Regions from separate parts of the Homo sapiens genome. Here regions 1 and 2 are each linked to region 3. Evidence: promoter capture Hi-C in 16 types of primary human blood cells and fetal thymus (Javierre and others, 2016). All regions are on one chromosome and are shown on one strand. The core of a region is centred on a gene start or on the middle of the fragment in contact, and the rest is flanking DNA. Distances in the headings are between cores, read along the strand shown.

What was found. The method cuts DNA at HindIII sites, captures the fragments that hold promoters and counts their contacts. A CHiCAGO score of 5 or more calls a contact.
Region 1: the fragment with the promoter of FNTB here is called in contact with a fragment that was not itself captured in region 3 in 1 of 17 cell types (M2 macrophages); the score reaches 5.2 in M2 macrophages.
Region 2: the fragment with the promoter of COX16 here is called in contact with a fragment that was not itself captured in region 3 in 3 of 17 cell types (non-activated CD4 T cells, total CD4 T cells and naive CD8 T cells); the score reaches 5.6 in non-activated CD4 T cells.

Annotation. Positions count from the first base shown.
Region 1 is chr14:64,985,645-64,988,350 of GRCh38, forward strand. FNTB (farnesyltransferase, CAAX box, subunit beta) reads left to right here and starts at 1,251. Exons shown (of 12, transcript NM_002028.4): 1 at 1,251-1,453. The coding sequence starts at 1,310. The region is part of intron 3 of CHURC1-FNTB (CHURC1-FNTB readthrough); the gene reads left to right. It overlaps LOC107984655 (a long non-coding RNA gene), which reads right to left and starts at 1,469. Exons shown (of 2, transcript XR_001750792.2): 1 at 1,036-1,469; 2 at 1-955. The HindIII fragment of the contact is 3,816 bases long and covers 1-2,706 here.
Region 2 is chr14:70,358,394-70,361,093 of GRCh38, forward strand. It overlaps COX16 (cytochrome c oxidase assembly factor COX16), which reads right to left and starts at 1,290. Exons shown (of 4, transcript NM_016468.7): 1 at 1,126-1,290. The coding sequence starts at 1,194. All of the region lies in intron 3 of SYNJ2BP-COX16 (SYNJ2BP-COX16 readthrough), which reads right to left. It also overlaps the pseudogene RNU2-51P. RefSeq lists enhancers at 1,010-1,319, 1,780-1,869. The HindIII fragment of the contact is 4,146 bases long and covers 755-2,700 here.
Region 3 is chr14:67,360,819-67,363,518 of GRCh38, forward strand. The region is part of intron 1 of EIF2S1 (eukaryotic translation initiation factor 2 subunit alpha); the gene reads left to right. It also overlaps a transcript of GPHN not described here. Among named protein-coding and RNA genes, the nearest start is that of EIF2S1, 1.8 kb to the left of the region's middle. The HindIII fragment of the contact is 1,601 bases long and covers 635-2,235 here.

The DNA of each region.
Region 1 (2,706 bases), core at 1-2,500, 2.4 Mb before region 3:
TTGTTTTTTTGTTTTGCTTTTTTTTTTTTTTTGAAACAGGGTCTCGCTCTGCCACCCAGGCTGGAGTGCAGTGGCACAATCATAGCTCACTGCAGCCTCGACTTCTTGGGCTCAAGAGATCCTCCCACCTTAGCCTGTCGAGCAGCTGGGACTACAGGCATGCGCCACCACGCCCGGCTAATTTTTTTGATATTTAATAGAGATGAGGTCTTGCTATGTTGCCCAGGATGTTCTAACTCCTCAAGTGATCCTCCTGCCTCAGCCTCCCAAAGTGCTGGGGTTACAGGCGTGAGCCACCGTGCCCAGCACATGTCTTCTAAAAGCTGCTGTTTCTTCCTTTTTCAGGAGTTCTTTCCCATACTGTTCTTCTGGATGACTCCTCGTCATCCTTCGGATCTCAAATGAAAGGTCATTTAGAGAGGCTTGGCCTGACCATACAATTCAATTAGTTTCTTACCCCTTTAGTCTCTCTCATAGACCCTGTTATTTTCCTTCATCTCATTTATCACAAGTCTTCATATATTTATTGCGTTGGATACATTCAATTCTGTCGATTTTCTTAGAATGTAAGGTTTCCAAGGGAAGGGACTTCGTTTTGTTCACTTTTGTATTCCTAGAACCTAGCACAATGCCTGACACATAGCAGGTGTTCCATAAATATCTGCGGACTGACTGTCTATTTCACTTATCCTTGTTCCTTGTACTGCATTTCAGTTCTCGCTACTGCAGTGTAACCTCCAAGAGACAGGAGAAAATCATAATACCCCCCTCCCTCCATCACTGAGTGATACTGAGACGGCGTCCTTGCACGTTTGAGCAGCTGCTGCCTTCTCCTGGGAGGCTGTCAAGTACCCCAAGGTGCACAATAATTCTTTTAGTAATTGCCTGACTGAGGCAAATCAGTAGAGCTGTCAGAAATGCTTTCAAACTTAACATTCATTGGGTTCTTGGGCACCTGAAATTGCAAACAATTGCATTACAATTAAGTGAGAATTAGCAGAATGTTACAGTTCTTTAACAATTTGCGTAACAAACCGAGGCGTCCTACGCCATCTCGCTGAAATGAAATTCGGATGTAGACACCCTTGCGCTTCAGGACTCTACGCTCTTGCAGCAGCTCCTCTGCCCAATGGGGGGCGGCAGCATCTCAGTAACTCACTCGAAAGACGGGTAGGCGGGAGGAGACATTCGCGTTCAAAATCTTTTTGCCTCTATCCGCTCGCCGTAGCGCTTTAGCCCGCTCGAGTTTCAATGCGCGTTGTTGCTTAACGAAGCAGAGTCCTACACACTGTCTGCTGCTCTCCTGATCATGGCTTCTCCGAGTTCTTTCACCTACTATTGCCCTCCATCTTCCTCCCCCGTCTGGTCAGAGCCGCTGTACAGTCTGAGGCCCGAGCACGCGCGAGAGCGGTTGCAGGACGACTCGGTGGAAACAGTCACGTCCATAGAACAGGTGAGGTGGCAGGACTGGGCGAGGCGCCCGCGCGATGTGTTCTGGGAGCGCGAGTCCCGTTCGTAGGGCCGCCCGGGTGCGGAACTCACCGGGGAACTACGACTCCCACAGCGCACCGCGGTGCCTTTCCTCTGGGAAGCTCCGGGCGCCCAGGCTTGGGCTTCGTCGTGGAGCGTTTGCGCGGCCAGCTTGGGGAAGGGTCGTTTCAAGGTTGGGCTTGGAGGAGAGGGCAGTAGCCGAGTCCCCTCTGCCCTAAAGAACGAGAAGAATCGTGTTCTATGCCTGGAGGACAGAGGCAGCCCGTGCGGGTCGGACAGCCCACTCTGTTCTGCCAGTACTTCGGGAGGTTCTGGGGTGCATAGTGCACTTTTCCCAACCTGCCCTCAGCTTCTGGAGGCAGAGAGCAGGGCCAGGCTGCTGTCATGCCGTTTCACGATCTGTTTAATTTTTGACCTACAGTGCCAGGTTTGGGGGCCCGCCTCGTGGGTGGGCATTTTGGTAGTCATTCAGCCATTTGAGCACCAGCTACGTGTCGGACACAATATTAAACGATGGAAGTACAAGGAAATAAAACAGCTCCTGACCAGGAGCCTGGTTGGGGGACAGGCAGGAAAACAGTTTGGAAAGTGATCTAATAGAAAGAATGGATTTTGGACTACTAATCATTCCCTAAGGCCTAGAAGTAGGATCGAACCTATCATTTTGAAAAGTGTTTGGCGAATGAGTATATATTCATATGCCCAAAACCATAGTTTTGTTTTTCTTCTTATTCCCTAATTGGAATTGTTCCCAAGGTTGCTATGTGGAACTGTTTATCCATCTGTCCCTAGGAGAAGTGGTTAGGATAATTCTTAACACTAATAAATGAACATTCTGCTGCTTACTGAAATAAGATCTCTTAGTGAGATCAGTCTCCAGGCTTTACCTTGGAGAGACCTGTTTTGTATTTCCTACTTTAAGTTGGAAGCCTGTACTTTGGCAAAATTAGTAACAATAATTGTTTTATTGTACAGTTATGACTAAATAGAATTATAAATTTATAACAGAAACAAGGGCTTGATACGTGGTTATTCACAAAGTAGCAGAGAAAATATTTTAACTGGAGATTTAAACTTCATGGAATTTAGGGTAGCAAAGGAAATCCTCACCTCTCGAATCTAGCTAATTCTCCAGGTTGGTTTGCCTACCAGTGTGTCCCAGGGAAGGCTGACTGCAAAAGATTGTAAAGAAATTTCCCATTGATGAAAAACCTA
Region 2 (2,700 bases), core at 40-2,539, 3.0 Mb after region 3:
TGGAGAGACAGAGGTCTTGCTGGTTTGGAACTCCTGACCTAAAGCGATCCTCCTGTCTTGGCTTCCCCTAACACTGGGATTACAGGTGTGAGCCATCGTGCTTGGCCCAGATACTTCAAATGGGTGAATCTTTTGGAGATTCCTAAAATCCACATTTGATGAATGTGGATTTTTCAAAACTGTGTAAAATATCCATTACCTTTCTAAGATCACTTCTTTCCTTTAGTCTGCTTAAATGGAAAAGCTGGTAATTTCATCTGCGCCAACATTCATACAAAATAAAAATATAGTCTGTATTTAAAAGCAGCTTTTGTTCATATGCTTTAATTATTTCATTTACTAACACATCAAGGCTTGCTGAAGCAAAATAACTGGCCCGTAATCAAAAAGCAAATAAGAGTCATCTGGATTTCAACTCTGGTTGTCTTAAGCCAGCCTCAGCCTGCATTTCATGACATCCTTAGGGAACTCAGTGTGGATATGGATGAAACCATATAAACACGGAAGCTGTTTTCAACGTGCTTTAGAAATTATAACACAGCAATCATTCTGGCTACAATGTGGCAGGCACCGTACTCAACACTTTATTCACAAGGTGTTATTAGTTCATCACAACTCTAAGTATTAAGCTAATTCACAAACTAGAAAGATGAAACAGAAAGATACCAGGAATTCGTGCAGTTAAATGGAATACATCTAGTCCCAATGATCCACAGTATCGTCAAAACATAGCTAAGTTGGGGGCGAGGAAGCAAGCTTAGTAATCATCCAAACTTGGCTTAAAGTGTGGTTCTGACTGAATTCTCTGAGCTTCAATTTACTTAACTGTGAATCAAGGGTAGTAACAATGACCGCGTTCGACGATGGGAAAGACGCCACGCTCACAAGCAGACAGATCCTAGTACACCTGAAATCCAACCGGGAGTGGGGGACAGCGGCGGGGAAGTGGGGGTGTGGAAAAGACTGGTGGAAGAGCTTTTAGGAAAGCTCTCACCCCGTCGCTAGCTCCTTCCTAGCCCGAGTGCCAGCCCTTAACTTCACATTTTACAGATTCCCTCCCAGGTCTTGATCCTGCCAAGGAGGAGGGTCCCACCCCTTGCGGAAGATCCTCCTCACTCCACTCACCAACATGGGGACTCCATAGCCGAGAGTCTTGTTCTTGCGAAAAGCACGCATCACCGCGGGTGCAAACATGAGTGAACTCTTCCATCGGCTCAGAACTCCAAGCGGGCCTAGCGCAGACTCCCAAATCTCAGCAGCTCACGCTCTCACCAAGACGAGTACGTCCTTAACTCACTTCCTTTTCCTTGGTTATTTGGTGCTCGGTCCTTAGTGAATGGTTTCCGCTAGGCAAAAGCAATCGAGCCATCGTAACATACTTGTGCGTCCGCCCAGAAATGTGGGCGTCAGCGTTTTTGGTTCCGTAACGTCGGCGTGCAATTGGGATTTAGAGATTTGAATCGGTTTACGATCACCACCAAATTGATCTGGAAACCAGTACTTCCCACGTTCTGGGTCCTAACTAACGTCTGCTTAGAACACTCCCTTAGGCACATAGCCACTCGATAAAATCAGCTAAGGAAAAAAGTATTTTGAGGCCGGGCGCGGTGGCCTGGGTGGGTGGCCTGTAATCCCAGCACTTTGGGAGGCCGAGGCCGGTAGATCACCTGAGGTCAGGAGTTCTAGATCAGCCTGGTCAACATGGTAAAACCCCGTCTCTATTAAAAAAAAAAAATACAAAAATTAGCCGGGCGTGGTGGCAGGCGCCTGTAATCCCAGCTACTGGGGGGCCGAGGCAGGAGAATCGCTTGAACCCGGGAGGCGGAGGTTGCAATGAGCAGAGATCGCGCCATCGCACTCCAGCCTGGGGAACAAGAGCGAGACTTCGTCTCAAAAAGAAAAAAGAAAAAAAAGTATTTTGAAGCTGGTACTCCAGTCTTTATGGCTATTTGTGGGATGAGGAATTTGCCAGTTTAATGGAGACTTTTAAAAATAAATCGCTTTTGAAAGATTAGGTTGAAATGTAATCAGTGTAGTGTCTCATCAGTCATTACTGAACTTTTAATGCTAATGATTTTACTGTGAGATAACCTGTAATCTTTAGTCATTTATGAATGTCTATTTACCAATGATTCAGCAACCATACAGGCCACCTTTCAGCGTGTCTTTGAAAGGGTTCTAGGAACACAGATAAAAATATATGATCCTTACCTTAAAGACACTGGCGATTTCATGGGCACAGAAACAAACATGTGTGAAGTACTGGGATAGCTTAGGAAGCCGATCCCCCACGTGTCCCATTTACCAGAGTGAATCAGAGTGCAGGTGATGCGGAATATTATCTTCCATGCTATTCCTGAAATATTTCCATCTGTCCCTGCCTCTCTGTTACCACTGAAATGTTCCTTTTTTTAATTCCTTATCATCTTTTCACCTATTAAAGTAGCCTCTTAAGTGGTCTCCAGAAGAGAAGCTCCAGATCTACTGCAGGCTACTCCAGTGAAACTTATCCTTTTGGCTAAGATCAAGTGTAGTATCTGTTCTTAACAGTTTAATATTTGACACATTCTCTATCCAAGGAAAATATGTTAAATGGGTTTTTGAAGCAAGGAGATGGAATAGGAGTTTGCTCCACCACTCTACACATCAACCTGTATTTCAATACCTCCAGAAACCCAGGAACGGTGCATCTCTCCCATC
Region 3 (2,700 bases), core at 185-2,684:
TTGCTTTTTCCAGGCTTGAGAATTCCATCTTTTCTTCCGCCCCAACAGCTCTACCAAAAATTTCCCCTGCGTCTCAGTGGAAACCAAACTGGCCTCTTACCTGAGAAACCTGTGGGACGGGCACCGTGTTGGAAAGAGCGGGGTCCGAGTAGTTTTTCATCTGATAATTGAATGAGTCACCCCTTGAACCAAAACTAAATGAGACTTGAGTTTATTACTGTTACTATCAGTTTGTCGTATTTTGGCGACAATGAGAATAGAACTGTGTTAAGCATATGTTAGGTTAACTATGTTAGTTAAGCATAACTAAAACCTAAGATAAGGATATATTTTCGGGTTAAATACACAGTCATGCTGAGGTCTCTTTATCCTCAAAACTTAGGCTTTTTAAATTTTTATTAAGCAAAAAACATGGTTTCTTCGAGAAAAAGTATAGCAGAGAAGTCTTTATTTCCCCTCAATTGAGTTGTTATTCAAGGAACAATCTCTGTCAATAGTTTGGGGGTGACTTGTACAGAACTTTGCTACCTATTCTTAGTTCATCTGGTGCCAAAAGATGTAGTTGTCTCATGCACAGTAATGTTTGTAGAGATTCGGTGATAACTTTCTTTTTCAACTATAATGATGAAATAAAAGCTTTACTTATGTAGCACTCCTATACCAAGAACTAGCATTCAGAGAGCATTCCTAATACGTGTTAGATCCAAATTAGAATTATCACGAGAGTTGTCCCCATCACATAATATATTTTGGAAAGGAATGTGAACTTCTATATCCATTATAGCAGTTTGACCATGCACTGTTTTGAGAAAGAAGTCCTACCTACCATTTGTCATGCAAAATAACTGACTATGCAGGGTATTTGAAATTAGCCTGGAGTTTGGTTGATATATTTTGAAAGGTGGCTGATACTTTTTACATCAGAACACATAAGAGTATTATAGCATGTTGTGATATTGAGGTTCTGTGGGTTAAAGACATTCTGGATTTGATGTCGGATTACTTGAGTTTAGCTCCTACGCTAGTACTTATTAAGCATTTGTTCTTAAGGAAGTATTATAATTTAGTATTTCTGTTCCACCTTTCCTGTTCATTGCTTCACTGTGCCCTTTCATAGTACTTTGTATTGTAATTATTTGCTTGCTAGTTTGTTTCCCACTCTATACTTAATTACTTAGGTAAGAGTCTTTTTTTTTTTTCTTTTTTCTTTTTTCTTTTTTTTTTTGAGACAGAGTCTCTGTTGCCCAGGCTGGAGTGTAGTGGCACGATCTCAGCTCACTGTAGCCTCTGCCCCTGGGTTCAAGGGATTCTCCTGCCTCAGCCACTATAGTAGTGGGATTACAGGTGCCTGCCACCACACCCAGCTAATTTTGGTATTTTTAGTAGAAATGGGGTTTCACCATGTTGACCAGGCTGGCCTCGAACTCCTGGTTTCAAGTGATCCACCCGCCTCGGCCTCCCAAAGTGCTGGGATTACAGGTGTGAGCCACTGCGCCTGGCCTGGTAAGAGTCTTTCTTGTTGTATCATTAGTGCTTAGTACATAGTAGCTACTGAAAAAAAAATTAACAAATTATTATATTACAAAATGGAAATACCTTCTTTTTCTTTCAATATTTTATGTTTGACTAGCACATAATGGTTTTCAAAATGTTTTTACGTATACATGTGATACCCTCAGTAAACCTGTGATGTACATGGCACAGATGAGAAACTACAGTTCAAAGGATGTTATCTTTCCCAAGCAGCCACTTCTAGTAAGTAGCAGAGCAAGGACTGGAACACAAGGCTAGAGTTGTTCCCCGAGTTTACTATGTTAATTGCCTGATTTGACACTTCTTGAGGACCAAATAAAATAAGAATGCTGTGAAAAAGATAAAGAGGTGAAGTCACCTAGTGTGACTTCGATATTGCGGAATGATTTTTTTAAGTTAAAAAAAAAATTTAAGTTATTAGCATTTCATTAGGCAATATGTTCAAAAATTGTCAACCAATATGCAGGTTTTTGTGGTATGGATTCTTTTTGTACTTAACTACTATCTATCTTTACTATGAATAACATACCATCAACAGTATTCCTTTACTTACCCTTTATGTTGCAAAGAGACTTGTGCCTCCTGAAGAAATAGTATTCATAGTCATATCCCTTCAGGATTCTCTTACATGATTGCCCATGTTTTTTAACCATCAAATTAAGCCTTGCTTCCCCTAAAAGCATCACCTTTACTGTTTGGAGAAGCTTGGTAAGTAAATGTGGTTTTCACTGGTCAAATGTCTTGCAACTGTTCCATACATTTCTGTAACATAGTTTATTTTTATGCCCAATTTGAAACTTTTTAGCTCTCAAATTTGAGAGCTTTACATACACATATTCAACAACAGTTTCCCCACCCCCACCCTCGAAAAGCCCTGTTTAAAAACGAAACAAACAGTCAGCTGTTTCTTGGTGGGTAAGGCCATTGAATGTCTACTTCTCTTTATTTGCTAAATCCCTATTTTGTAGGGATTTTGTATTCCCTACAAAGAAATACATCTCTGCTACTGTCATTAATATGCTGCTCTTTGTTGTCAAACAGATGAGTACTAATAGTTTGCACTTATTGGTGTTATGTACTCTGGCACTGAATATATATTAATGTTGCTTTTTAAGTAAAATGTTTCTAATTATAATATATTTATGAATAGTTTTGAGAGAATATAGT